Regions from separate parts of the Homo sapiens genome. Here all the other regions are linked to region 7. The links are contacts of gene promoters, found by promoter capture Hi-C in blood cells and fetal thymus (Javierre and others, 2016). All regions are on one chromosome and are shown on one strand. The core of a region is centred on a gene start or on the middle of the fragment in contact, and the rest is flanking DNA. Distances in the headings are between cores, read along the strand shown. Region 1 overlaps RABGAP1L (RAB GTPase activating protein 1 like). Region 2 holds the start of DCAF6 (DDB1 and CUL4 associated factor 6). Region 3 holds the start of TIPRL (TOR signaling pathway regulator). Region 4 holds the start of SFT2D2 (SFT2 domain containing 2). Region 5 holds the start of COP1 (COP1 E3 ubiquitin ligase). Region 6 overlaps CACYBP (calcyclin binding protein). Region 7 holds the start of PRRC2C (proline rich coiled-coil 2C).

Evidence for each region. Contacts are between HindIII fragments. The CHiCAGO score rates a contact against its expected background, and 5 or more counts as called.
Region 1: a contact is called between a fragment that was not itself captured here and the fragment with the promoter of PRRC2C in region 7, in 1 of 17 cell types (naive CD4 T cells). The highest score is 5.7, in naive CD4 T cells.
Region 2: a contact is called between the fragment with the promoter of DCAF6 here and the fragment with the promoter of PRRC2C in region 7, in 2 of 17 cell types (monocytes and fetal thymus). The highest score is 7.3, in monocytes.
Region 3: the fragment with the promoter of TIPRL here is called in contact with the fragment with the promoter of PRRC2C in region 7 in 2 of 17 cell types (total CD4 T cells and total B cells); the score reaches 5.3 in total CD4 T cells.
Region 4: a contact is called between the fragment with the promoter of SFT2D2 here and the fragment with the promoter of PRRC2C in region 7, in 1 of 17 cell types (fetal thymus). The highest score is 6.4, in fetal thymus.
Region 5: the fragment with the promoter of COP1 here is called in contact with the fragment with the promoter of PRRC2C in region 7 in 9 of 17 cell types (fetal thymus, naive CD4 T cells, naive B cells and 6 more); the score reaches 15.1 in fetal thymus.
Region 6: a fragment that was not itself captured here is called in contact with the fragment with the promoter of PRRC2C in region 7 in 4 of 17 cell types (total B cells, naive CD4 T cells, total CD8 T cells and 1 more); the score reaches 7.9 in total B cells.

Annotation. Positions count from the first base shown.
Region 1 is chr1:174,963,452-174,967,419 of GRCh38, reverse strand. All of the region lies in intron 20 of RABGAP1L (RAB GTPase activating protein 1 like), which reads right to left. Among named protein-coding and RNA genes, the nearest start is that of RABGAP1L-AS1, 11 kb to the right of the region's middle. The HindIII fragment of the contact is 1,425 bases long and covers 1,625-3,049 here.
Region 2 is chr1:167,934,014-167,938,150 of GRCh38, reverse strand. It overlaps DCAF6 (DDB1 and CUL4 associated factor 6), which reads right to left and starts at 1,468. Exons shown (of 22, transcript NM_001198956.2): 1 at 1,143-1,468. The coding sequence starts at 1,239. It overlaps MPC2 (mitochondrial pyruvate carrier 2), which reads left to right and starts at 1,079. Exons shown (of 6, transcript NM_001143674.4): 1 at 1,079-1,212; 2 at 2,253-2,418. The coding sequence starts at 2,310. RefSeq lists silencers at 1,063-1,302, 1,333-1,402, 2,003-2,172 and enhancers at 1,583-1,892, 2,343-2,452. The HindIII fragment of the contact is 3,362 bases long and covers 471-3,832 here.
Region 3 is chr1:168,177,307-168,181,325 of GRCh38, reverse strand. It overlaps TIPRL (TOR signaling pathway regulator), which reads right to left and starts at 2,364. Exons shown (of 7, transcript NM_152902.5): 1 at 2,145-2,364. The coding sequence starts at 2,248. RefSeq lists enhancers at 2,133-2,252, 2,240-2,741. The HindIII fragment of the contact is 4,299 bases long and covers 1-3,313 here.
Region 4 is chr1:168,223,281-168,227,480 of GRCh38, reverse strand. SFT2D2 (SFT2 domain containing 2) reads right to left here and starts at 1,477. Exons shown (of 8, transcript NM_199344.3): 1 at 1,339-1,477. The coding sequence starts at 1,401. RefSeq lists enhancers at 271-320, 441-520, 823-1,556 and a silencer at 1,181-1,810. The HindIII fragment of the contact is 4,334 bases long and covers 665-4,200 here.
Region 5 is chr1:176,205,989-176,210,267 of GRCh38, reverse strand. COP1 (COP1 E3 ubiquitin ligase) reads left to right here and starts at 2,982. Exons shown (of 20, transcript NM_022457.7): 1 at 2,982-3,696. The coding sequence starts at 3,290. It overlaps COP1-DT (COP1 divergent transcript), which reads right to left and starts at 2,603. Exons shown (of 5, transcript NR_185981.1): 1 at 2,397-2,603. RefSeq lists an enhancer at 2,375-2,444 and silencers at 2,945-3,154, 3,185-3,544. The HindIII fragment of the contact is 7,879 bases long and covers 1-4,124 here.
Region 6 is chr1:175,000,998-175,005,217 of GRCh38, reverse strand. CACYBP (calcyclin binding protein) reads right to left here. Exons shown (of 6, transcript NM_014412.3): 2 at 385-604. Among named protein-coding and RNA genes, the nearest start is that of CACYBP, 3.2 kb to the right of the region's middle. The HindIII fragment of the contact is 277 bases long and covers 2,704-2,980 here.
Region 7 is chr1:171,483,095-171,487,214 of GRCh38, reverse strand. It overlaps PRRC2C (proline rich coiled-coil 2C), which reads right to left and starts at 1,685. Exons shown (of 35, transcript NM_001387844.1): 1 at 1,480-1,685. RefSeq lists enhancers at 1,132-1,880, 1,787-2,096. The HindIII fragment of the contact is 3,004 bases long and covers 1-1,879 here.

The sequences.
Region 1 (3,968 bases), core at 1,088-3,587, 3.5 Mb before region 7:
CTTGCAGTGAGCCAGAATTGCACCACTGCACTTCAGCCTAGGTGACAGAGTTAGTGAGACTCCATCTCAAAAAAAAAAAAAAAAAAAAATTAGCTGGGTGGTGTGGTGTGCACACATGATCCCAGCTACTGGGGAGGCTGAGGTTGGAGAATCACTTGAACCCAGGAAGTCAAGGCTGCAGTGAACTATGATCATGCCACTGCACTCTAGCCTGGGTGACAGAGTGAGAACCTGTGTCAAAAAAAAAAAAAAGAAAGAAAGAAAATATAATAACAGGAAATGCTTACGCTGCCTTCCTTGTAGGGGGGAAAAAAACCCCAATAAATAATTGGAGAATCTCATTGTAACAATATAAACAACCAATATTAACTGTAGGTAGTGAATTTTCTTTATTGTTGTCCTTGTTCTTTTAAAAATGTTTTCAAGTTTTCTACAATGAATATATATTTGTAATAGGATTTAAAAAATAGTTTTATTAAGAAAAAAAGGAATTCAGAATTTTAATTCCATTGGAAGGGATAAGATGCCAAAATGAGAAAAAAAAATTTAAGTCCACTTCTGTTAGAAGGTCATATTCTACACAAAACCATATTGGATCCTCCTTTTTGACCAAGATATAATGTAACCCCTCAGAAGTGGTGCCTTGTGAGGAACTCTTTCCCTAGATGTTCCTGAGAAGACTGTGAATGCTCTTGTAGAGGCAACTTGTACTCATCAGATTCTGTCTGTTCCCCTCAATCTACAGAAGTTACACCCTCCCACAGAAGCATAATAAATGTGGAGACTAAAAAACAAATTTCTAAAAAGCCAGAGCTTCTACAATGAAATCTTTGAATCTTTGCCTAAGCAACACAATTTCTAGCAGGGGCTGGAGAGTTAGCCTTTATTTCTGATATATCTATTACTCCTTTTCATGGAAAAAAAACATATAGGAAACTTAGATTAAAAAAAAAGATTTGAGAAGCTTTTTCAATAAATTTCCTCCCAGCCAGGAAAGAGTAACAATACCAGCACAATTTCAACATGACATATTTCACAATGCAGGCTGCTTAGCCAGGGAAGAGATTTTTCTCATTTCTTGATAAATATCTTCAAGAAACTAAGATAAGACTACTTCAATAGGTATTCCTGAGTTAAGTATCCTATTGCTATTGAAATTGTACTTGTATAACCCCAAAGTACAAAAAGCTCCCTCGACTATTATGTACATTACATTCATTTGGCACAAGTGAAAATGTTGCCACTACCAGTTTTTCAGGTTACAATTACATGCTTAGAATTGAGTTAAAGTAACCTCCAAGTAAAGTCATAGGATGTTCATGGAAAAGTACTTTGTTCAAGTATTTAGAAATCATACCAGGTAGCTACTTCACTGTTGATTAGAGATAAATGTCTGATGGATTATCTGTTATATAAGAAAGAGGTGTGAGTTCAGCTGAAATTCTGACTAGTAACTTCTCATTACAATGACTGTTGCAACTGAAACCCTTCCTTACAGACACACAGCTAAAGGGGCAAGGGCAAGGGTGGGAAAAGATTTGGGAGAAACTGAGTGTCTCAGAGTCCCTGCAAAGCAAAATAGCCTAGAGGGCACGCCTACTGGCTTTTGCTTTAGCAAGAAGCTTCAATTTAGTGTCTGCAAAGCAAGCAGCACAGTGGGAAGTGTCAGACTCCTGCTCTGCACTCACAGACAAGTGGGAAAGCAAGCTACGGGGCCAAAAATGCAGTATCATCCTCCAAAGTATGAACCCAGGGTGAGTGCTACTGAGCACTACAGTGAGACCCTGCTACTGAGATGGAGATTTTCTACAAAGAACTTGCCCACACTTACCTACTGAGGGCTAAACAGAGCTTATATTAACGTGGCTGTCTTTTACAGTTCTTCTCAAGGAGCCAAAACTGTTTTCAATACTGACCAATTCTAGAAAAAGTTTGCCTGTATACTAGAATGGAGAAGAGAGTTTGGTTTTGATGGTCTTGGAAAAGGCAGTAACCCTGCTTGGTTCATTTTGAAATGTTGACAAGGGTTGCCCATGGAAGACAGACTTAAAGTCAGCCCCAATAACCTCAGTCAGCCCAGAGAAATTCACATGCTGTAAGTTTGCACAAGCAGATGTGCTAAATGCTCAAAGCCTGTAAACAAAACAGGCAAACTGGCTCCCTCTTGCCTTTCAGAAAAGATTACAGGAGACACTGCTTACATAACTCTTAAAACTCACATCACACTGTCTGAAACATATACTCCCCATCTCACACAACTGACACCGTTTGAACAAAAAGCAGATAACAACTGTCCTCATAGTTTCACCCCTTATGGATAGGAGATGTACAGCTGGGAAAGTTTGGTTAGTAACTTTTGGGAGGAGGATACTGCATTTTTCAAAGAGACAGACACTGATGTTACAGACATACATAGATTAAAAAAAAAACTTACCTCCTCAAAAGTCATAGACCAACTACTGTTTTCAATCATAGGTACAAAGACAATTAAAAAAAAAGAATATCCAATGAAATTGAACACCTACTAAAATATTTATGAAATGGCAATAACAAAAACAGACACTTCTTAATGCTCTTTTGCTTTTCCTTTGAGTGTCATATAACTCTAAGTTCTCTCTGTGACCGCAAACATTCAATGGAACAAAGATACTTGAGGTAGCCAGTGGGCAAGTCTCAACTCAGGAAGACTCATATCTTCAAACTCCTCCCTCTCCACATTGCTGTTTACAGTTTGCATGAATGACTAAAATGCTGTATGTGGGACTATTAAGGAACTACGGTGTGAGGTGTTGATACTGTGTTGTTAAAGCTGGGTGGAAGGAACTTCCTTATATGACAAGGTCAGAAATCTTGCAAAATAGTTCATCTTCAGACAAAAGAATGAAATTGCTGGGCAGGGCAATGCAAAAGAAAAATGGATCCTGGATCTCATGTGTACCTGGGGGCTGAAGTCTGGGTGAAGCGGTTCAAGGGATTGTGAACGTCATTTATTTCAAGATGAGAAACCAGAGAAATGTGAACTGTTAATTAAAAGTAAAGAAACTAAGCTTTAAAGGAAAAAATGACGAGGAGGGAGGCGGCTTTATAAACCCTAGCTCAATATTTTGGGTGTTGTCTGCTGCTATGATGAATTCTTGGCACATGCTTTTAAAGACTTTTAAGGGTCAGGAGAAAATGTTTTCCTAAAAGACTCAGTGCAAATTTATTAGCAACAACACACTCAACTCTCACATATTTTCTTTTGGATACCTCTTTTAAAAGAGTTGACAGCTATCATATTCAAGTTTTCAAATGCCTACAGATAAAATGTTTAAATATCTATGTTGTCCATAATGAAGATCTGAGAAAGAAAATATGGATATTTGAAGGTTTTGTGCTTCCCTCCTTTACTCATCACATCCAATTTTATCTTTGTAGTGGAAAATTTCAAATTTTTAAATGTCAAACTAAAAACAAAATCTTGTCAGTGATAAATGACAGCTGGCCAAACAGACTGCATTTCTTTCAGCGCTTAAAAAACTATCTTAGGTTATACTCTTGCACAGGGGTCAGCAAACTTCTAGTGTAAATTGCCAGAAAGTAACTATATTAGGCTTTGCAGGTCGCATGGTCTATGTTGAAATTTCTCAACTCTACAAATGTCATACAAAACCAGCCATACACTATAAATAAATAAACAGGTGTGGTTGTGTTCCAATAAAACTTGGTTTACAAAAACTGGCAGTGAGCCAGATTTGGCCTATAAACCACAGTCTGCAGATCCTTGCTCTACTCTAGTACACAAATCAAATTTTCAAAAAGCAGATGCATTCTAGATGATATAGAAACATATTAGTGTCAGGTAATTTTCTCAGTAATACTTAAACAGAAAAGAAAACTTTCTAAAAATTAATGAAAGTTTCTTGAAAACTCTGAAGATCACCAGTAAACATACTAGAAATTCTTAGTGTTCCTAAAGCATATTCTTC
Region 2 (4,137 bases), core at 219-2,718, 3.5 Mb after region 7:
GAATGGGAGGGATCAAAGGGATTTTTGCTTCATTTTTATTGAGTTTTTATAAACAAAATGTATTCGTATTTTACTTGAGACACTAAAAAGAATTAAAAAATTGCATGCTAACTTTTCTTAAATAATTTACAAACCAGAACTGTTGGTTGTAATGAGATTTCATTTTCTTCTCTTTACTTGAAATCAAAAACAAATGAGAGCAACAAACACTTTTTAACTAGCAAGTGGCAAAACTGGAAAGAAAAAAATTTTATGATGTTGTTTGCCGTATCTCCAAATAGAAAGAAAGAGTAATGAAGAGTATACAGGAAGAAACAAAAAAGACCTTTACTAAGTACGTCCATTTTTAAGAAACCAAACTTTTTAGTTGACTCGGGCGTGACCTAGAATCCTCAAAAAAAAAATGTTATGCAAAACGAAAAAAGTGGAATACTGTTCCCCCAAGTACTGAAGGTTGTTTTTAGAAAGCTTAACTACGAAACTGTAAATGCCAAGTGTGTTTTCCAGGGGTGGGAAGAGGAACGTGAAACCCTACACCACCTTTAAGCGGTCAAAACGAACTGAAGAGCAGAGTGGAACTGGGAGAGCGCGCGGGGGTGGGGAGAGCTCAGCTATCACTTTTAGGTTTTGGCTCAGCGCCGCAAAAACAGTTTACACGGATTCTGTCTGGAGCGTGAAGTCCCTGAGGGTGGTCAACGCGTCGCAGCCGACACCTAAACCCTCTGGAGATTGAAGGAGAGGGTGGGCAACAACTTAGGTTCTTCGGCTGAGCGGGGAAAGCGCGCTGGAAAAGAGCAAAAGAGCTAACTTTTGCTCTAAACGCGGCAGCTCCTGGAGGTTCCGCAAGTCTCCCGAGTCCCAACCCATCAGCGACCCCAACACCTTTACAAGCCAGTACCTTCTGCCCACGGCCCGGCCCTCCGAGAAAAACCCAGCAAGGGCGGCGGCTGGCAGCATGCACAGGGGGCTTGACTGGGGGAGGCACCGGCACGGAATTCGGCAACCAAGGCCCCACCCAACACCCCAGAGTCTCCGGGCGCCCCCACCGAGACGCCGTCCCACCTCCAACAGACCCGGCAGCGTGCCCCCTCCCCCACTCTAGGCGGCGACCTCAGCGCCTCCGCCCCGGGGCCCCCGCTCACCCAGGTAGCGACTCCGCAGCCGGGACGGGTCCTCCAGCCCGAGGGACCTTTTCCTCACGTCCCACAACAGGTGTGGGTAGGAGCCACCCCGAGACATGGCTCTGCCTGAGCCGGGTGGGAGGGGAGACCACCGCGTGGGGGAGGGGAGGAGGGGGAGGGGACACCCGTTTCAACACCCGAGCCGCACCGGCACCATCCGCGCGCCGGGCCTCCAGGGCGCAGCGTTAGATGGCGGTGGCAGCAGCGGCGCCTGGGCCCCTGAAGCCCGGCCGCACCCGGGCCGGAGCTCGCCTCATACTCTCCTTCTTAGACTAACCAGAACATCCAAAGATCAGCAACAGTCTCCTCCCTCAGCCCCCCTCCAACAGGAGGAGGCGGAGGCGGAGGCGATGGCGACTCCTCCCTCTCCTCGTCCTGGATACCCTCCCCGCCAACCCTTTCTCGCGAGATGACGACCACCCTGGGGACTGAGGCTGGTGTGTGCTGCGGCTGCCCTCACCCTGGAAGAATGCATTCGGGCCACTCTAACCAGATCCTTAAGTCGCTAGGGATAAAAGACGAGTAGAGAGAGAAGCTACTCAATTCTGTAGTCTCTCGCTCACGAGTCTCCAGTGAAAAGAAGCAAGAGAATTGTGCGGCATCATCTTTAGGCACTGAAGGCCCAAAAACCCATTTTAACTACGGGCCTGCTTAATCAAAGTGAAAGGGCAGTAGAACCAGCGCAGCTTCACTTTCCCTTCTCCAACATGGCCTCGAGGGCATGGGGAGAAGGAGGAGGTTTCCGCTCGACCCCGCCCGCGCCTCGGGGCGGGCCAATCATGGCGGGCAGCTCGGCCTGCGCAAGCGCGCTGCCAGCAGGGCGCAGCGCAGACTTGGTGAGGTGATTATTTTGGCACCTGTTGCCATGGCTCCTCCCTCTCTCCTGCCGGGGGCCGGAGGCGGACCGGGGGCTGGCAGTCGGCAGCCTCCGCCCCCTCAACCTTCGCGGGGCGCGGGCCGCAGCTTTTCGGTTCACAGCGGGCAGGGAAAGCCGCGGGAAGGGTACTCCAGGCGAGAGGCGGACGCGAGTCGTCGTGGCAGGAAAAGTGACTAGCTCCCCTTCGTTGTCAGCCAGGGACGAGAACACAGCCACGCTCCCACCCGGCTGCCAACGATCCCTCGGCGGCGATGTCGGCCGCCGGTGCCCGAGGCCTGCGGGCCACCTACCACCGGCTCCTCGATAAAGTGGAGCTGATGCTGCCCGAGAAATTGAGGCCGTTGTACAACCATCCAGCAGGTAATGGACCCTGAATGGCTCCTTATCGAGACCTTCCTTCTCGCTTCCTCTAAAATGGACCTTTTAGAGGCCCTCTGACAACTGCCTCTAGAGGCATCCACAGCCCCAATCCCTTCCCTTCAAGTGAAGCCGTCTACTCTCCTAGCCTGTGCATTTCACCCTCTCTCCTGCAACATCTCTTCCTAAGCCAACGTATCTCAAGTCAGCTCCCTTCCCCACCTATGTGACATCCGCTCCCTTACGCACGACTCCAACCCAAACCTGATCTCCAGATTTGAGCCTTCTCAACTTCTGCGGCCACCAAACTGTCTGGGGCCACCATGAAACACTCATTCTCTTTCTCTTTTCGAATTGTGGCATATTAACCCACTCTAGGCAGAGCTGGATGGGTGGTTTGTCGCACTGTAGGGTTTGGAGTAAAGGTCACTTTCTTCAGCTGCTGCTGGCAGAGGCCTGCAGACTGAGCCCTCCCCCAAACTGCATGCTTTACTTCATCCAGGCTTGAGTCAGTGTCATTTCTCATCCCATAGGTCCAGTGTGTTTTTTTAAGTCTATCCTTATTTATGAAATTGTTGAACAAGCTCTACCCAGAGCTTTTTGTGTGGACAGACCTGGATATCATTCTCTTCTACCACTTATAGTTGTGACCTTGAGCAAAAGCCTAGATCTCTGTTTGTGTAATACGCGGTCTATGAGAATGACAGATAACATATGTGCTTGACTCTTTGTAAATGCTCAGTAAACGTTACATCTCTCTTTGCCTACTGGAAAACTGTGTTCTTGTGGTTGAAAAAAAAAACTGTAAGAAACTGAAAGATTCCAATCCCTTTATTAAAGATCTAGAATTCTGTTACCTCTTCTATAAAGTGAGTTGTAATAATACTTATTTGCTAGGGGCTAACATCAGATATATTCTGAGGTCTGTTTCAAGCCTAAGACTTGGCAAACTAGAAAATGTGTTGTAAATTGAAAGACTGAAGTGCTACCCGAAAAGTGGCTTTTATTCTCCTACATAGTTAAAATCTGTATTCTGTAGTTGGTATCATTAGGAAAGTTGTCTAGTTCCCCCATTATCTGATTATGAACCAGCTCTCTGGAGTCTGAACTGGTTACTAAATCTGATTTCCAGTTTGATAATGGAATGAATTGAACATCTGGATTATACTCTAACCCTTAATATTATTTACTGCAACATTGAACCCATTATAAAACTGATCATTAAGGACAGTTTGTTACTGATTTAAAAAGTTTTTGTTTATTTGCCTTTTAGTTCTTTTAACATTCAATTTTTTTGGAATTATGCTGTGTTTTGTGGCAAAGATTTTCGGGAAGGAGGGTTGAGCTATGCTTTTTGTAATAATCTGGGCTTTACAGAGTCAACTGAATGTGAAGTCAACCCTGACCTTCATAAGCTTTGTGTTTTAGCTGTAGGATAAGGGCATGACAGAGTAAGAGTAATTTTAAACTACTTAAAATAATACAAAATTGGAGGGTAGTCTTACCTTGATCCTTTCCAAGCCTTTAGTTTTTAGCCACCTGTAATTACTGCTTAAAATACTACTCAGCTTTCAGAATGAAGAGGGATTACCTTTCACTTGCAGGATGTGCATTTCACCTGAAAATCCTTGGATTCGTTCAGTTATTTTAACCCCCTTTTTCAGTGTAGTAAAAGGAGCTAGGCTTTGAAGGGAAATAGACCTACGTTTCAGTCTTGGCTGT
Region 3 (4,019 bases), core at 1,115-3,614, 3.3 Mb after region 7:
CAGGAGAATCGCTTGAACCCAGGAGGTGGAGGTTACAGTGAGCCGAGATGGCGCCATTGCACTCCAGCCTGGGCAACAAGTGAAACTCCATCTCAAAATAAAAATAGAAAGAAAGAATAAGAAAAAAAGAAAAGAAAAGAAAATTAAAAATAAATAAATAAATAAAAATACAAAAATTAGCCAGGCGTGGTGGCACGCGCCTGTAGTCTCAGCTACCAGGGAGTCTAAGGCAGGAGAATCACTTGAACCTGGAAGGCGGAGGCTGCAGTGAGCTGAGACTGTGCCACTGCACTCCAGCCTGGGCGACAGAGTGAGTCTCTGTCTCAAAAAAACAAAATAAAAAATAAATAAAAGTTATACAAGGCTGGGCGCAGTGGCTCATGCCTGTAATCCCGGCACTTTGGGGGGCCAAGGCGGACAGATCACCTGAGGTCAGGAGTTCGAGACCAGCCTGAGCAAAATGCAGAAACTCCGTCTCTACTAAAAATACAAAAAAAAAAAAAAAGTTATAAAAAAAAAAGAAAAGAAAGATATAGAGAGGAAAAACTCAAAAAAGTAATTCAATTTCTGGTGGGATGAAGGGAAATTTTTTTCCTTTCTTTTCTGTATTTTCCTAATTTTTTTCAGTGAGTCTACTAGAATATTACCACTTATTTTCTTGAATTAGGAAGCAAACATCGTTTCATTACTTTCCTCTCTTCCCTGGTCACTCCCTCTGCTCAAATCTTAAAATGCAAGTACTCACTTAGGGTTCTATTTTATGACCTTTTCCTCTGGATGACTTCTAGATACCTTAATTCATTCCCAAAGCTCCAGGTACCAAATATAAGCAGATAATTCCCAAACTTAAACCCACAGACGTTATCTTTTTTGAGCTCCAAGATAAATATATCTAAATGCCTACTACACATCTTCACTTTATGACCTATACCCACCTCACATTTCAATAAACTAAACTCATCCTCTAACCAACACCCTGCCCCCATCTGCTTCTCCTCCTCCTGTGCTTCTCATCTTGTTCAAAGGCATACGATACATGCAAAAATCCAAGCCAGAGATCTTGTCATCAGCATAGACTCTTCCTTTTTTATTTCTCCTCCCATCAGCTGGCCATCCCAGGGACTTAATCTTCTAAAACCTATCTTTTCTCTTACTAACTGGTCTCCTTCCCATCCCTGCGGACCTGCAATCCAGCCTCAACATGGCCTCCAGAGAAATCTTTCAGAGCGTACATCTGATAATGCAGCTCCTTTGGATAAAATTACACCCAGTGGTTGTCAGATAAAATTGAAAACTCCTTAGCCAGGCATAAAAATTCCCTCAGTATCTTGATTCCCCTGGGGCCTACCTCTCATCTCTCACAACACCCCCTATGGTACCTCACGCTCCAATCACACGGACACAGCTCTTTAAACACATCACAGCTTTCACTCTCCCTGAGCCCCCAGCTTTACATGCGTCCCCTGATTCCCCTAAATTTTGTCAAGATTCAGCCCAGGCATCAAAAACGCATCACAACTCACTCTGCCTGACCTGATGGCATGTACCTATCCACCGCCCCCCGCAACGGTTTTATAAAGATTCAGTTCAGGCATCCCAATTTCCCAGATGGTTCGAGCCCCTAAAAGACCTCACATCACTCCGTGTATACATCTTCATTACATTTATTCACGCTGTAATATAATTGTCTGTCTCTCTCACGAGACTGTGAATTGAGGCGCACGTTGTCTTTTACATTTCCTATCTCAAGCGCCGGGCACAGCACCTGACGTGACAGAAACCAAACTTATAAATCATCCCCGTCATTAACCCCTAAGAAAACAGGCAACAGCCACCCAGAAAGAAAGGTGGTGCAGGCTGAGGCAGGAGGAGACGTTTGGTGAGGGGAAAGTCCACCAGAACAGTCACACTCTACTCAAACCCAGGCGGATTGACAGTTGACGAAAGCAGCGCCTGGCGATCCCCAACCAAAGGGCCCGGAAGTGTGACTGGATTATTTATCGAAGTTGTCAATCAAAGGTCCGGTCCGGAGGGACCGAACCTCCGCCTCAGGGAAAAGGGGAGGGGCTGCACAGAGTTCGCCCTGCCTCCCGCCCTGGGCCAGCAACCGGCCAGCGCCCAGACCCCGTGCCCCGAAGCCTCACTTCTCCACATCCGCCGACTTCATGATGTGGGTCTTGGACGCCGTCAGCTTCCAGGGCCCGAAGCAGAAATCCCGGTGGCTGCTCTGGAAGCCGTGGATCATCATGGCTGAGGCAGGACCCGCAGAGGCCACAAGGAATAAGCTGAAGCAGCGGCGGCGGCGAACACCGGTTCCTCCGCCTCCCTCCGGCCCAGCCTCCTAGGCTTCCGAGCCGTTACCATGCCCGGCCCCGCCCCCTGCCGGCCGACCCGGACGCGGGCTCTGCTTCCCGTCTTCTTCTCCGCCTCTTTGCTTTTTGCTTCCGGGACTAGTTGCTCTTGTTGCGTGACCCACGTCTTACGTTCCGGCGTTCCGGAAAAAAGGAAAAAGGAGAAAGTCAGAGGGGCGGCACTTGGGTTGCAGAAGGTGTGGTTAGGAACGCACCGCCCTCTTGAACTCGTTGGGTGACGTCATCTCGAAGGATTTTAGGGACTGCCAGGGAAGGGGATGACGGTTCCAACTTGATCCTTACAGACCTCAAAGCAGTGTGATTACCTCATGTGTTAGTGAATCGTGTTACAGAGGAAATTTTTCTGTTTTGAGGTCAAAAAAAGAAGTAATCCCACAGAGTTTAGGAAATCCAGCACCAACAAGATTTAGAAGTGGCCATCTAGCCACTCTTGACTATGACCAACTCCTATCAAAAATTGCATCCTCGTAGATATGCGAAGACTTTCCATGGTCTAGTTGCTATGTAGGCACCCAGTATAGTGAAAACAACACAGCTGACTTAGTGCTAAATCTCCATTTGCAACACTATTGTGTGAATCCTTGGGCAAAGCGCTTCTCTAACGATTTTAGGCTTCAGTTGCCTCAAAATGAGATGATTTTGTTAATGGAAAAAAAACAAATTCTGTAAAAGGTTTTAAAGAGATTTATTCTGAACCAATATGAGTGACCATGGCCCAGGGAATAGTCCCAAGAGGTCCTAACAAAGAGCATCTGAAGCGGTGGCATTACTCTTTGTTTTATACATTTTAGGGAGTTGGGAATTGCAGGTAAAATAAGTCAATATATGGAAGATATACATTGGTTCAGGCTAAGGAAGTGGGATGTCTTGAAGGAGAGGCTTACAGATCATAGGTGGATTCAAAGATTTTCTGATCGGCAATCTGTTGAAAGATTTAAGCTTTAGTCAGGCGAGGTGGCTCCTGCCTATAATCCCAGCATCTTGGGAGGCCTAGGTGAGAGGATTGCTTGAGTCCAGGAATTTGAGACCAGCGTGGGCACCAGAGTAAGCCCTCATCTCTACAAACCGTGTTAATTAGCTGTGTATGATGGTATCTGCCTGTAGTCCCAGGCCACTTGAGAGGCTGTGGTGGGAGGATCTCTTGAGCCTCAGAGGCTGCATTGAGCCATGATCATGCCACAGCACTCATGCCTGGGTGAGCGAGACCCTGTCTCAAAAACAAATAAAAACACAGGCCAGGTGCAGTGGCTCAAGACTGTAATCCCAGCACTTTGGGAGGCCAAGGTGGGTGGACCACCTGAGGTCGGGAGTTCAAGACCAGCCTGGCCAATATTGTGAAAACCTGTGTCTACTAAAAATACAAAACTTAGCCAAGCACGGTGGTGGATGCCTGTAACCCCAGCTACTAGGGAGGCTGAGGTGGGAGAATCACTTGAACCTGAGAGGCAGAGGTTGCAGTGAGCCGAGATCGTGCCACTGCACTCCAGCCTGGGTGACAGAGTAAGACCTTGTCTCAAAAACAAACAAACAAACAAACAAAAAACAGTGTTAAGCTTTGTCTAAAGACTTGAAGTCAGTAGAAAGGAATGCTTAAGAAAAGGGAGTCTGCTATCTGTCATGTGATTCTACACCAGTCAGGTTGGAAAG
Region 4 (4,200 bases), core at 228-2,727, 3.3 Mb after region 7:
GAGAGCAATCTTACATTCGGAGATGTCATGCTAAGTCCCAGTATCACACAAAACAAAACCGAATAAAATCAGCAACCACAAACGTGGGTGAAAGCAGCTTGCTGAGAAAGAAGAACTTGCTGAGAAACCAGAAGAAACACTGATTAGTTTCCAGTTGGCCATATCATCTTAACATCCTCATTTCACAGATGGGGAACGGAGGCTAAAGAATACACCAAAAAGCGAAGAGAAACGTTATTTTGTCATCCAAAAAGGAAAACAAAAGCTAAAAGCACCCTAAATAGAAATGCAGCATTCTGTGTGGTTCTACAACATAGGACATTAGTGGCCAGGTTTCAGCACGATCAAAACTTTTCTAATAGGCCGGGCGCGGTGGCTCATGCCTGTAATCCCAGCACTTTGGGAGGCAGAGGTGGGCGGATCACTTGAGGTCAGGAGTTCGAGACCAGCCCGGCCAAGATGGTGAAACCTCGTCTCTAGTAAAAATACAAAAATTAGCCGGGTTTGATGGCGGGTGTCTGTAATCCCAGCTACTTGGGAGGCTGAGGTGGGAGAATCGCTTGAACCCAGGAGGCAGAGGCTGCAGTGAGCCAAGATCGCGCCACTGCACTCCAGCCTGGGCGACAGAGTGAGACTCTGTCTCAGAAAAAAAGAAAAAAAAGCTTTTCTAATAAAACAAACCAACACGCAGGCAGTCTCCTGAGGCGCTGGGTGTCTAGAGACTAGTTGTGGGCAGTGTGGACAGAGACACAAGATGTGGTCCCTGTCCTCATGGGATGGGGGCAGTTTCTCACCCCCAATCACAAGGCAATGTGTACAGGGGCGGGTGGGAGTGTCACACCCTACAACCTAAACCGGACAGAAAACCAAGGCAGAGCTCGGGGCGCGGCCACCAGCCCCGTCGCGAGGTAGGGACCGCCACCCCAACACCCCAGTCCGGGTCTGGGGCCCCGACCCACCCAGCAAAGGCTCCTTCCGCCTGGACCTCGGGGCCCCCAGCCCTACCCGGCCCTAAAGCGCATTCCCCGGCCGGTGGGGCCGGGGCCGACAGCCCAGTCGCCCACCCTCCCACTCGCAGCTCAGTCCGGGGATTTCCTCCTGCGCCGCCCCCTTGTCAGGGAGGATGGGCTGAAGGGGCGCGGGGCAGAAAAGGACGCCGCGGCCACTGCCCCGTGTAGTGCCAGACCTCTTCGCGGAGCCCTGCAGAAGAAGAGGAGGAGAAGGGGCAGAGCTACCGTCCAGAAACTCCAGGGAGTCCCCGCAGGCTTCCCAGGCCCGGGCAGGGGACGCAGGGCGGGAGCGCGGCGAGAGGGGGCCGACGGCCCCGGGCTCACTCACCTCGGACAGGCCGCTCCGGTCCTCCGTGTCCTGCCCGCTCAGCACCTTCTTCAGCTTGTCCATTGCGGCCCAGTCCCCACCAGCTCCAGCTCCTCAGCGGCAGCCTGTTGCGCTCGCTAAGTTGACGGCTCTTCCGGGTGCTAGGCAGCCGCCCAGCCGCCCAGGCGCCAACCGCGGCGCGCCCCGCCCAGGCACCTGCCCACCGGGGGGCTCCCGGCATGCCCCGCGCGCCCGCGCTCGCCTCCGCTTGTTTTGGTCCCGGGGGGCGCGGCGGGCCGGAGGGGCTGGGATTGAAGACCACCAGGCGCTGCCAAACACTAATTCGGCGTCCAGAGCAGTTTCAAACCGGAACGGGCCGCGCTCCCTCGCCCTACTTGATCCAGTCAACGAATGCCGAGCACCTACCACGTGCAAGGCTCCGGAGACACAAAGACGGGGGAGAAGCCTTGTGCAGACGGGAACAAAGGCTGTGGTTCATCCATATTGCGATCGTGCCTACACAGGAAAAGATTTTCTTTTTAATCACTCAAGGCCTTAGTCTGGTGTGGTGGGGCGTGCCTGGAAGCCCAGCTACTCCGGAGGCTGAGGCAGGAGGCTCACTTGAGCCAAGGAGTTCCAGGCTGTAATGAGCTATGACCAGGATACTGCACTCCAGCATGGGCAACAGAGCGAGACTCTGTCTCAAAAAAAAAAAAAAAAAAAGTGACTGAAGGAATGTTGAAAGGAATAATAGATTGTTAAATTGTTTTGTGTTTGTACAATTGTTTTTTTTTCTGACCTTAAAAAAACTAAAAGTAGACTGGGCATGGTGGCTCATGTCTGTATTCCCAGCACTTTGGGAAGATGGCTTGAGCCCGGGAGTTCCAGACCAGCCTGGGCAACATAGGGAGACCTCATCTCTTCAAAACATTCTTAAAAATTAGCCAGGCATGCTGGCGGGCATCTGTAATCCAAGCTACTTGCGAGGCTGAGGAGGAAGAATGGCTTGGACTCAGGAGGTCAAGGCTGCAGTAAGCCATGATTGTCAGTACAGTAAGCCACTGCACTCTAGCTTGGGCAACAGAGTGGAAACAATACAAATGGCCACCAACTGATTAATGGTAAATAAAATGTGACATACCCATGCAATAAAAAAGAATGGAGTACTGACACATGCTACAACGTGGATGAACCTCGAAAACATTGTATTAAGTGAAAGAAGTGTGGAGCCCGAAAATTTGAGACAGGTCTCAGTTAACCAGGAAGTTTATTTTGCCAAGGTTGAGGAACAGCACCTGTGACACAGACTCAGGAAGTCCTGACGACATGTGCCCAAGGTCGTTGGGGCATAGCTTGGTGTTATACATTTTAGGGAGACATGAGGCATCCGTCAATATGTGTAAGAAGTACATTGGTTGTGTTTGGAAAGGCGGGACAACTCGAAGCAAAGGCAGGAAGACTCAAGGGGGGAGGGGGCTTCCAAGTCACAGATAGGTGAGAGACAAATGGTTGCACTCCTTTGAGTTTTTGATTAGCCTTTCCAAAGGAGGCAATCAGATGTGCATTTATCTCAGTGAACACAGTGATAACTTTGAATAGAATGAGAGGCAGATTTGTTCTAAGCAGTTCCCAGCTTGAATTTTCCCTTTAGTAATTTGGGGGGGCCCAAGATATTTCCCTTTCACAGAAGCTAGACACAATAGACCATATATTGTATGATTTCATTTATAGGAAATGTCCAGAATAGGCAAACCCATAGAAACAGAAAGTAGACTAATGGTTGCCTAGGGATGGAGGAGGGGAAATGGTAGTAAGAGACTAATGGGGTGATTTAAATGTTCTGGAATTAGATTGTGGTAATGGTTGCATGCACAGCTCTGAACATACTAAAAACCATTGAATTGTATGCTTTGAATTAACTGTATGGCATATGAATTCTATTGCAATAAAGCCATTTCAAAAATGCTTAGAACAGTGCTCAGTATATATTTCACAATCCATTAATATTATCTATTGTAAAATGTAACAGGCATCCACTCTTATCTTTCTCCAATGTGTCTGAGTCTGAACCCAGAATATGGGCTCCTGATTTACCTACATTTATATTTGCACATTGTGCAATTGGCCCATTACAAGGTGATTCATTGTAGCATTGTTTGTAATAGAAAAAAATTGGAAACAACTTAAAAGTTCATAAATGAGGGAAGTGCTTAAATAAATTATGGTACATTCATTCACAAGAATACTAAGTAGTCATTAAACACAGAAGAATGAGGAAGGTTTAATCAATGTCTTCAGAAGGTTTTTTCTGACTGTGCCACACCATCCCTTGAAGGATCTTTGTAAACATAAGTCTGACTCATTTGTTGCCCTGCTTAACATCTCCCACAGTGTGGTAAACTGAAAAATGTTCCCCAAAAGATACCCATGTCCTAATCTCTGGAAAGTGTACATGTTACCTTAGACAGTGAAAAGTGGAGTGGGGGTGGTATTTTGTGCAGGTAATTAAGGATCTTAAAATAGATTATGCACAATTATCCAGGTGAGCCATAAATGCAATCATGTATATCCTTATAAGAGGGAAGCAGAGGGAGATTTGACACCAACAGAAGAGGAGAAGGCACTGTGACCACAGAGGCAGAGATGGGAGTGATGCAGCCACAAGCCAAGGAATGCCAGTAGCCACTAGAAGCTGGAAGAGGCAAGGAAAGGATTCTCCCCTAGAGCCTCCAGAGGGAGCATAGTCCTGCCAATAGCTTGTTTTCAGCATTTCTGGCCTCCAGAACTGTGAGAGAATCCATTTCTGTTGCCACCAAATTTCTGATATGTAACAGCAGCTGCAGGAAACTAATGCCCATGTTCCCTACCACCTACAGATAAATT
Region 5 (4,279 bases), core at 1,733-4,232, 4.7 Mb before region 7:
TGCTGGTACAAATGCATATTCATAAGGTGGAGCTCAGAAATCTGGTTTTTAACAAGCTCTCTAGGTGATTCTTCTGGGCACCGATGTTTGAGAATCATGGGGGAAGCAATATGTTTAGCAAATAATAGGTCCATAATAACTATTTGATGATGATATACTATGCCCTTAGTAACTTCCAAATGTCTCTCATGTGCTGAACTTTCTTCTGTGCCTTAACCCTGTGTTTTCGACCACTGCCTATTCTTTGAGTTTTTTTCATCCCACACTCATTCAAAACATTCAAAACTAAACCATCTACTGGACACCTCCAATCTTGTCACTACGTTATTGTTACCCAGAAGTCATGTTTGGAGTCATTTCTGTTTGTGTTTCATCATTTTTACTTAATCAACATATTGACCATTGTGTCAAGCACTGATATAGACAGTGATGAATATGACAGATATGGGTCATACTCTCAAGGATGGTAAAGACAGTTTTACAGAGAGTAATTAAACTTTATACCATCAGTTCCTTAGTGTTTTTCTCAGAATATTCCCTTTCTTTGTCACCATCCTAATCTAGAATCTTATCATTTACGCTCGAACTGCTTTAATTTTTCCTAGTCTTTGTTCCTAATTTCCCACCTCTTCTGAAAGATTAATCTCCTAAAAAATTAATCTTTAAAACATTATAAATGTTTTTACCCTACTTAATGCCTAATTTCCGTGAAAGCTGTCGTAATCAAAATGGAATTATATGGGCTCGGTGGTACACACCTACAGTTCCAGCTACTTGGGAGGCTGAGGCAGCAGGATTGCTTGAGCCCAGGAATTTGGGGGCTGTACTGTGCTATAGACTTGCCTGTGAACAGTCACTGCATCCCAGCCCCATCTCTTAAACAAAAGGGGGTGGGGGGCCCCATCTCTTAAACAAAAGGGGGTGGGGGGCCCCATCTCTTAAACAAAAGGGGGTGGGGGGGCCCCATCTCTTAAACAAAAGGGGGTGGGGGGCCCCATCTCTTAAACAAAAGGGGGTGGGGGGCCCCATCTCTTAAACAAAAGGGGGTGGGAGGTAGTCACTAATATATTTTTTAAAACACTGAAAAATAGATTCAGAGGTCATGAAGAGAAGGGGTCTCATGCTTGCACACCTGATGACAAAAACTATCACAAAAACCTGCAAAAGCCACAATCTTTTTTTTTTTTTTGAGATGGAGTCTTGCTCTGTTGCCCAGGCTGGAGCACAGTGGCACGACCTTGGCTCACTCCAACCTCCGCTTTCTGGGTTCAAGCGATTCTCCTGCCTCACACTCTCGAGTAGTTGGGATTACAGGTGCATGCCACCACACCCGGTTAATTTTTGTATTTTTAGTAGGGACAGGGTTTCGTCATGTTGGCCAGGCTGGTCTCGAACTCCTGACCTCAGGTGATCCACTCGCCTTGGCCTCCCAAAGTGTTGGAATTATGGGCCTCAGCCACCGCACCTGGCCAAAAGCCACAATCTTACACAAAAAATACTTCCGCAAAAACATCTGCCCAGCAACTTCCTGTCCAGTTTCCGACTGGTGTCACCTTGTTATTGATCTTCGTAGCCAAGGATAACGGTTTAAAAACAATTATGTAATTCTCATTTTTTTTTAAATTTTAAAAACCTTTGCCTTCCTTTACCTCCTTGAATACGCACGTAGTTTACTAAGTCATGAGTATTTTCACACTTTATTCCCAAATAAATATATAAGAATCATAGAATGATAGAATTGAAAAGGATAAAATCACACAGTTGTTTCTAACTCCCACCCCTTAGAATGCGGCAAATGAAAAAAATTTTTTTTTTTGAGACAGGGTCTCTGTCTCACAGGCTGGAGTGTAGGGATCTCCGCTCCCTACAGCCTCAACCTCCCCAGCTCAAGCAATCCTCCCATGTCAGCCTCCCGAGTAGCTGGGACTACAGGCCTGCTGCCACCATGCCCAGCTAATTTTTTGTACTTTTTGTAGAGACGGGGTTTCGCTATCTTGCCCAGGCTGGTCTCTAACCTCAGGTTCAGCCTGATCCTCACCTCCAGGCTCAGGTGATCCGACCCCCTAGGCCTCCCAAGGTGCTGCGATGACAGGCATGAGCCACCGCGCCCGCCTATAATCAATTTTCAATATTCTAAAAAAGCCTACCAGAAATTGTATATTTTCTGGTGGTATTAAATGCTAGGTTTCCTTGTTTTGTGCTAGAATTATATCAGATCCACAATAAACCTAGGTTCCGACTGAGCTGGGTCTGATTGAGCAAAATCTGTTTTCCCATTATTGTTATGTTCAATTTGGCAAACAGCTTTTCAAAATATAGGAGTGAAGTCGTGGTCGAACTAATAAAATTGGTAACACTTGCTACAATGTTTGCAATTCGCAGAAAACTTCACTGACTTCATCTTAACTTATTCCTCACAAAGCTGTGGAATCACCATCAGTAGAGCAGGAGTCGTTGGCTCAATGCAGTGCTGTCTGCAACCGCTCGGAGCTTCTAGGTTCTTTCCGTGGGTCTCCAGCTTATGAGCACCTACATTCCGCGATTCGGAAGCACCTGCCTACCCCTCAGAAGAGAGAGACAGCTCCTTCTTCCCGTTCCGGAATGTGGTGCGTTCGCACGCATGCGTGACACGGCTACTCCGCGCTTGCGCCGATATTCTCCGCTTGGGGCGGATACCCTGGGTGACCCGTGAGCGTCCGCGCCCGGCGCGCGCCTGCGCAGTCGCTTTTCGAGAGTTTCCGCCCGCTACGTTCCCGTCTTTCAAACCACCCCACCACCTATACCATTCATTCCAGTCTCCTCAATTCTTTCACTGTATTAAGACGGCCTGCCCTCTGGCACGTTTTCTGGAACGAAAGCGGCTTGGGACAGACAGACTCCCTTCGCCAGGGAGCCCCGACCCCGAGGGCGCGCCCTGAGCGTCTGAGCGCAGCCCCGCTGCGTCCCCAGTTGTATCCCCCGCCACGCCCGCCTCTTCCGCCGCTCGCGCGCGCGCGCACGGCCGGCCACGGCGCGCCGGGGTTGGCTGCTACAGGGACCGCGGTGGCGGCGGCGGCCTCGACAGCGGTAGTGCCTTCTACTCCGCTTTTTTAGTTTCCTCCGCCCCCTCCCGTGGGACGCTGTTGTGTGGCTGCCTTAAAAAAAAACGCAACTTTATTGTTCCTCAGCCCCACCTCCGGCTCGGCGGGCGTCCTCAGGATGCACTGAGGCTGAGGGGAGGGGAGGCGGCGGAGGGTCGAGGTCGCGGTCCCTCTCCTCCGAGCGCCCGGCTGGAGGGGAGGGAGTCACGATGTCTGGTAGCCGCCAGGCCGGGTCGGGCTCCGCTGGGACAAGCCCCGGGTCCTCGGCGGCCTCCTCGGTGACTTCCGCCTCCTCGTCTTTATCCTCTTCCCCGTCGCCGCCTTCCGTGGCGGTTTCGGCGGCAGCGCTGGTGTCCGGCGGGGTGGCCCAGGCCGCCGGCTCGGGCGGCCTCGGGGGCCCGGTGCGGCCTGTGTTGGTGGCGCCCGCCGTATCGGGTAGCGGCGGCGGGGCGGTGTCCACGGGCCTGTCCCGGCACAGCTGCGCGGCCAGGCCCAGCGCCGGCGTAGGAGGCAGCAGCTCCAGCCTAGGCAGCGGCAGCAGGAAGCGACCTCTCCTCGCCCCCCTCTGCAACGGGCTCATCAACTCCTACGAGGACAAAAGCAACGACTTCGTATGGTGGGTTTGAAGAGCACTCCCTCCTTGTCCCTAAATTATGAGTTTCTGCCGCTTAGGCTTGGGGGCGGGGGGTCTGGTGTGGGGGTGGCTTGTTGGAGAGCTTGGGATACTGGTGCTGTGGTGGTGTCTGCAGAGGGAATCGAGCGTTTGCAGGCATTCGAGCTCCTGGTTGGTGGGGTGAAGGAATGTTGGAGTAGCGAGGCAGGGTGGGGATAATAAAGAGGTAGGTAAGTGTTGCTGAGGAGGAAGTGAAGGGAGTTTAACGAATGACGAGGGAAGAGGTGGAAGGTCAAATAAATGGTTTTGGATAACAAAGTTGGCAGAGAGGTTGAGTCTTAAAATTTTTGCCTCTCTGATGAATTGAACACTCAGTCAATCAGGAGTCCTTGTTGAGATGAATGAAATTTGCAAATGGAGAGGACTAAGCTTCCTCGGATGCAGAGGGGTGGAGTTGGTCAAAATTTATTTGAAGTATGGTAGATGATGCTGTAAACATAAGCATGGATGTCTTATAAAGACATGCTTTTTATAATAATGTAAGTACCTATCGTATGTATGTGTAAATATCTTCTTCCATTTCAAA
Region 6 (4,220 bases), core at 1,593-4,092, 3.5 Mb before region 7:
GGTGCTCAAAAATATTTCCTGAATTTAACTGGATTCCTCTCCTCAGTTAATTGTGGTGGTTGGCAGAGTGAAACATAAAACATGATTAAAAACCACCACCACCACCACCACCACCAAAGCTGTGTCTTATACTGAACAATTTCAGAATAAGTTCCTTCCTTGTTGTTACATTTTGTAGTGAATCACCTTACTCTTGTTAACAGCTTCTAGAACGCATCCTTTCCTATTTATATCTTAAAAAAGTTTTATTAAATAAAAACTGATGGGTCTTGCTCCAAACCACCAAAAACACAGACTCAAAACTCATTGGGGATGAATTTGTTAGACCACTATGAGGAATAGGTTGCTCGGAGGCAGAACTGGCTATAGGGAAGCAAGTCATACCATAATTACTGATTTTCACCGTATAGCCCGTTGTAATGGGAGCAACCACAGCAGCTGGTTTTTCATTATCAAGAAGTTCTGCTTTCTTCTGTGATTTCTGTTGCATCTTGTTCTTGATTTCTGTCTCAATCTTGGATTTTTCAGCTGTAAGGGCATCACGTACTCTTTTCCTAGTAGCCTTTTCCAGCAACACCTTTACCTCTTCTAGATCTTTCTGTAGCTGTGTTAAGACAAAAAATAAGTTAGCTATGATAAATAAGGAAATGGCTTGATATTGTGCGTATCACTCATTTCAACTTACTGAAATAAGCACTAAGAATTAAGAAGTTCATCTAAATTTTCTAGGATTGAGTTGCAACTTCAATTCTTCCATCTGGCTTATTAACTGTAATTAACTCAAGCTTCCTTTTTTTCAAAAGGAAAACTTTGAACAATCTTGAACAAACAATAAATAGGTCTTCAAACCTAAATTTTCCAGTTTATGTTTTAAAATATTTACAAGAAACGTCTGCGACCTAAAAAGTAAAACAAAGAACTTTTTTTTGACAAAGGATTCATAGATTTCCTTGTAACATCTAATCCGAGTGTCATTAGATGTTAGACACTTTTAAAATATTTAAGAGATGAGAGAACATGCAGTGACCATGGTAAAATGCTTTTATAGCAAACTTAACTGAGGTAATGAATGCTCCACTTTCTGTCACTGATTGGTCTTCATTATCTTCCCACCTCAAATACCTCACATAAAAAAAGTCTTAATTTTTAAGACAAAAGATAAAAAAAAAAATTTCTGCTTTTGAGGAAAAGTCTTGCTCTGAAGCTGGGTCAGTCTTACACTCAGAAGTGTAGGAGTTGGTTGCACAGAAGGTGACAAAAGACCGAAAATGCAACATACTCTTGGAAATTATCTTTTGAAAAAGCCACCACGTTCTCATTTTCTTCTCTTGCCAATCCATCATCTATTAAAGTCTACTACTTTCTACTTTCTAGAGATAGAGGCAACATTTTATGAAATTCAAGAGTTAAAGACAATGTTAGAAAATTATTGAGCCTAAGTTTTTTTTCCCCCAATTACCCTCTGACATACTGCAAATACACAAGATCTTTCCAAACAGCTGTTTCACTTTTCTTACAATAACTTTACACTCTGGCTTGACACTACCAACTTGACCAAAAAAATCTTGTGTCACAGCTTGATATCAAAAGCTCAATTTAAAAAAGTCTTTTAGTGCTTTATAACTCAGAATATCAGACGCACAACAGAGTTTGAAAGCCTGTTTCTTAATAGTCTTATAAAATGCAATAACAGAACTAATTCTTTTCTTTTACTACAAGTCTTTTGTTATCTCATTTAACTCAGATGCCCTAGTTTTGCCTATCTATAACAGATGACATGGTATAAAAAGTTCAACTCTGGCCAGGTGCAGTGGCTCACACCTGTAATCCCAGTACTTTGGGAGGCCAAAGCGGGTGGATCACTTGAGGTTAGGGGTTCGAGACCAACATGACCAACACGGCGAAAGCCCGTCTCTACTTAAAATTCAAAAATTTGCCGGGTGTGGTGGCACGTGCCTGTAATCCCAGCTACTCGGGAAGCTGAGGCAGAAGAATCGCTTGAACCCGGGAGGCAAAGGTTGCAGTGACCCGAGATCGCGCCATTGCACTCCAGCCCGGGCAACAAGAGCAAAACTCGGTCTCCCAAAAAAAAAAAAAAATCAACTCTGCCCAACCCTCTTGTCCACACTCTCGACCCTTCCAAGAACAGCTCATATTACTATGACAAAAAATCTTGCAAACTCATCTTTTGAGCATAGAACCAAAATGTTTCAGTTCAAAGTAATATTTTTATTGTAATGGTTTCAAAAAAACGCTGATTCTACAACTCCTAATTCATAATAAAAATATTGAAATGTAAAATGAAATATATTAAGTCTAAGCAAGAGGTTTTGCTTTTTGACTGAAATAGGAATACTTTATCTAGCAGAATGAGAAAGGTACTTCGAATTAGGCAAGGGATTCCCCCAATGGCTGAATTCCCAAGCCCTCTTTATTGCCAGTTTTGACTCTAAAGTACTCTTTTTATTATGAAGTATCCACTGAAAAAACTTAAAACTGAGACAGTTCCTCAGTTCTGTTATTGGCAGACTTGAAACCAACAAAGGTGATTCCTTTGATGCTTTTTCTGCACAAATACTTTAAGATGTCCTAGTTTCCTATCTAATTTATCATGTAATTTTCCTTGCCTTCTTGGCATGTGTTTGTTTTACGTATATAAAAATTTTATTTCTCTTTTATCCCTACCCATAAGGCATTCAAGCTTTATCTTCCTATTTCCTAATTTTTCACTAGGAGGCATTAACACCAATGTGCCTCAAAAATGGGCAAAGGAATTCAACACACATTTCTCCAAAGACACAGAAATGGACACCAAGAACATTAAAGATGCTCAACATCTTCATCATTGGGTAAACGCATATCAAATTCCCAAGATGCCACTTCACACCCAGTAGGATGGTATCATAAACCGAAAAAGAAAAATAAAACACCCCAGAAAATAACAAATGTTGATAATGATGTGGAGAAACTTTCAGAAGCTTCAAACATTTCTTACAGGAATATGATGCAACCACTCTGGAAACAGTCTAACAGTTTCTCAGAAAGTTACCATATGAACCAGTAATTCCACTCCTAGGTATATACCCCAGAGAACTGAAAACACATCCACACAAAAAACTTGGATACAGTACTCGCAGCAGCATTATTTATGCTAGTCACGAAGTGGAAATAAGGCCAGGCGCCATGGCTCACACCTGTAATCCCAGCACTTTCAGAGGCCGAGGCGGGCGGGCGGATCACTTGAGATCAGGAGTTCGAGACCAGCCTGGCCAACGTGGTGAAACCCCGTCGCTACTAAAAATACAAAAATTAGCCGGGCATGGTGGCGCGCGCCTGTAATCCCAGCTTCTCAGGAGGCTAAGGCAGGAGAATCCTTTGAACCCGGGAGACGGAGATTGCAGTGAGCCGAGATTGCGCCATTGCACTCCAGCCTGGGCGACAGAGCGAGACTCCGTCTCAAACAAAGAAGTGGAAATAAATGTCCATAAACGGATGAAAGGATAAACACAATGTGCCACATGCATATAATAGAATATTATTTAGCCATAAAGAGCATGTGTACTGATACACGCTACACCATGGATGAACTTGAAAATGTTAGTGCTAAGTTGAAGGAGCCAAAAAACAAAAGGCCACATACAGCGTGACTCCATTTATATGAAATGCCTACAATAGGCAAATTCACAGAAAGTACAAGATGAGTAGTTGTCAGGGGCTGAGGGAGGAATGGGAAGCAATTGTTTAAAACACACTACATGGTTTCTTTCTGGAGTGATGAAAATGTCCTGAAACTAGACAGTGGTGATGGCTGCACTACACTGTGAATATATTTAAACAAAAAACAAATACCTGAATTGTACACTTTAAAATGGTTAAAAACTTGAATTTTATCTCAAACAAAACAAAAATCAAGTGCCCTCAAATGTATATTTCTAAGTGCCTAAACTGAGAACGATCTCTACTTTCAAGAGGACTAACACTGAGCTATCCACCTGCAAGACTGTGAAGTTATCTCCTAGGGGCACATAGTACCCAAGACCTACCTTAAAAGACTTGTCACAAGATACCCAGATTAATACTGGAACACACAAACCTCATAGTTTTTCTTCATTTAAAGAAAAGATTTTGAGTTTAAAAAACAAAAACAAAACAAAACAAAAGCTTGGGACTCCCCAGTACTTGTTTTCATAAAGCAAATCTAGTTAATACACACCCAACAC
Region 7 (4,120 bases), core at 436-2,935:
AGCACTTTTCTCAAAGGTCTGTTGTGGAGATTAAAAAAAAAATGTATGAAAAGGACTTATTACTGTGCTCAGTGTATAGCAAAAGGTCACCTAATGGAGAACAGCCACACATAAGCTAAGCAGAGCAAACACAATCACTTAAAAAGGCTATATTCTGAAAATCCACTTACAGAAAAGGAGAGAATTACTATTTGACTACATGCTAAAGACAAAATTCAAGTTCAATTTATTCCTAATTTTTTAGGGGATCAATGCATTTGGGGTGAGCCAGAAAAGATGCTGCAGTGCATCTGTGACACACACCTAAAAATGGCTCCAGTCAAAGCAGCATCTTAATTACCAATATGGGAGGTGAAATCTAGTTTTGAAAAATGGTGGGGTTAGGCTTGGTAGGTGCTTAGTATCACCCTATTATTTTTATTTGCAGGAGTAAGCTATTAAGTACTCAACAATCAAAAAATCCTCCGATTCTTCTGGTGCATTCCAAATGAAAATCTTACAGCAGAGCCGCCTACTGTACAATTCTAAGTACTCTAACGAGGTATGAATCTATGAACCCAGGCTGAAAACCAGCCAATGCGGAAATCCAGGTAGCTTTATAAGCCAGCAAACATCAGGCATGTCAGACCCTCAAAAGATCCCAAATAATGTCAAAACACACATACATCCCTTTAAATTAAAGGTACTCCTCTCATGCAAAGGAAGGAAGACTCTATCAATGTCTCTATAGTGGCCCCATGCCCTTTTCTTCAGTCCTAAAACGGGGCCTTTACCCTGACACCACCAATATCAACGCTATCTCAAAGACAGGGAGCTACCGAGATTCACCACGCAAGTTAGAGGATGGAGCGGCCTAGAGTGTGAAAAGACTACCCAAATCCTCCTCCGGAGTTGGGCAGCACTTCCCTAGCGGAAGTAGGGTTGGTCTTGATTCCCCGAAGAGCCTCTCATCTAACCAGGTCTTTAAACCAGACCCTCCCATACATTGCTCATTGCAAGTCCCACCCTCACTACACAGGAAGAGGTAGACAGTGAAAGCCCCGGCTGAGTCCTTCAGTTGTTTGGGGAAACGCATACCCGACACTAAAAAAAAAAAAAAAAAAAAAAGACTTCACGTCCGCCAGTCCAGGAAGACGGAAACCCCCTTCGCTTACCCGGCAACATGCGTAATCCCCTCGCAGGGCCAGGACTGGGGTCTAGGTGGGAGCAAGACAGACCGGTCCAGAACTCCCGCTGCAGACCACATGGGGCGGGTCTGACTCCGGTTTCCCGCTCCCCAAGCTGGAGGCCGACTTCCCCAGACACAGAGATGATGGTAACCAAACAGAAGGGAAATGCCCGGACCCAAGGCCCTCTCCACGCGGCCCCCTAGCCTCCGGGCGCCAGGGTCTGGGTGCGCTCCCACGCCCCAGGCCGCACTCTGGCCGTTCCCGATGGGGCCCTCTTTGATCGCGGCCCCCACACCCTCGCTTTCCTTACCGGTCAGGGTGAGTGTCAAGTTTGCGCACTTCGAGGGTCTCCGCCGATCTCTGATCGAAAGAAGGGGGAGGGAAAGCTGGGGTTAAAGGGGTGGCCGGAAGGGCCACCAGACTGGAAAAGCCGAAGCTGCGGATGGACAAACCGCCAAAGCACTTTCGCAGCTTTCCGAGGGGGAGCGAGCGAGCGAGAAAAAGAAGCAAGATGGCGGCTAGCCAGCCCCTACGTACTACGTCATGACGCTAAGTACGTAGGTCAAATCTCCGCAAGACCACACTCCTGCGCAGAGACGGCCGGATCACGTGAAGCCTCCGTGGCGGCCCAACCCCGACAGAGGGTGCTGGCGCTTCCTGCTGGACGGAGGGAGTTTCTGCAATCAGAATTATCTTTTCAGGACAAAGCTTGGACCTGAGACCTTTCTAAGAAGTCTTGAATTGACCACGTTTACAAGTTGATAATAAGCCTCAGTGAAATGAGCACTCTTATGTCTGGTGGGTGGATGTGTAAATGGTTGAACCAGCAGTTCGCCAGTATGTCTCAGTGAATTTGGGGCAAGCTGAGAAGTCTTGGTGTATTGAAAAGTTATCACAGAGAGTGAAAGTAAAACTAGTGTGAGGAACAGAGTAGCATGGGCTGCTGAGAGCACTTTTTAAGTTTCTAATTATGGATGTGAGATAAGCCATTCAGTTTATTTATATGATCTCTCCATCACAGTGTTCAGCTCCGTTGAATAGTAAGATTCACCCATGCTGGCTTTTACTAGGCAAGTGTAACATAGGCAGATGAGTGTATCTGGAAGTGGGAGACTACAATGATGATAATATTATGTCAGAACAGATGGCGAATGTTTAGTAAATGGTATCTTTTGTCCTCTTTGTGAACTACCTATGACATATTTAAAATTCAAGGATTTCTTACCACTTCTGGTCTGAACGATCTTCCCCGCCAGTAGCTGGTGTATGTCCATGGAATTGTCACTGTAGCAATGTTAGAATAAATGAAATAATAAAGAGAGGTAAATTATGAACACCTCCCTCCCCACTAATATTAATTTGAAGTAGAAAAGTCTGGACTTGCTTGGTGGCTCATGCCTGTAATACTAATACTTTGGTAGGTCAAGGCAAAAGGATTGCTTGAGACCAGGAGTTCAAGACCAATCTGGGCAACATAGTGAGACCCTACCTCTGCAAAAAAATTAAAAAGAAAAAAAGCTAGCTAGGCATAGTGGCACATGCTTATAGTCCTAGCTACCTGGGAGGCTGGAGGCAAAAGGATCACTTGAGCACAGGAGGTTGAGGCTGCAGCGAGACTCTTTCTCGAAAAAATAGAAAAGAAGAAAAGAAAAAGTTTTTTTATTGATATAGGGTCATTGCCAGGGGAAAGCCTACTGATCATCCACAAGAGGACAAGGAAGCATTACTTTAGTGAATTTCTACAACCTTCTAGGATCTGGTCTATAGTGTCCTGGTCACAGAAACATCTTTCTTTGTTTTTTTGGAGGCAGGGTCTCACTTTGCTGCCCAGGCTGGAGTGTAGTGGCATAATCACAGGTCACTGAAGCCTCAACCTCCCAGGCTCAAGCAATCCACCTGTCTCAGCCTCCCAGGTAGGTGGGACTACAGGTGCTTGCCACAAAACCTGGCTTTTTTTTTTTTTTTTTTTTTTTTTTGCCAGTAGAGACGAGGTCTTGCTATGTTGACTGGGCTGGTTTCGAACTCCTGAGCTCAAGCAAGCCTCCCGCATTGGCCTCCCAAAGTGCCGGAATTACCGGCATGAGCCACCACGCCCAGCCAAATCATCTGTCTTGAGCAATGGAGAACAACTTCAGCAATCAGATGAAATTACATTAACCAAGGTCATAAGACTGACACGTATGGCCGGGCGCGGTGGCTCACGCCTGTAATCCCAGCACTTTGGGAGGCCGAGGCGGGCGGATCACAAGGTCAGGAGATCGAGACCATCCTGGCTAACACGGTGAAACCCAGTCTCTACTAAAAAATACAAAAAAAAATTAGCCGGGCGTGGTGGCGGGCGCCTGTAGTCCCAGCTACTCAGGAGGCTGAAGCAGGAGAATGGCGTGAACCCAGGAGGCGGAGCTTGCAGTGAGCACAGATCCTGCCACTGCACTCCAGCCTGGGCAACAGAGCGAGAGAGCGAGACTCTGTCTCAAAAAAAAAAAAAAAAAAAAAAAGACATGTATTAAATTATTAATTTCTAAGAGCTTTAATTTATACACCTGAACACTCAACAACTGCAAAGCCAATACTTTTTTTTTCTTTTTTTCTTTTAATTTTTGCCAGAAACAGAAAGCCTCCGGTATGCCAGCATGGACCCAAGGTGCTATCTTTTCTTGAGTACATTTTCTCATTTCCCTCCCCTCCCCTCCCCTCCCTCCCTCCTTCTCCCCTCCCCTCCCTCCCTCCCTCCCTTCCCCTCCCCTCCCTCCCTCCCTTCCTTCCTTCCTTGCCTGCCTGCCTTTTCTTCCTTCCTTCCTTCCTTCTTTCTTTTTTTTTTTCCCCATGGAGTCTCACTCTGTTGTCCAGGTGGCGTAATCTCAGCTTACTGCAACCTTCACCTCCCAGGTTCGAGCGGTTCTCCTGCCTCAGCCTCCCGAGTAGTTGGGATTACACAAAGGCGCCACCAC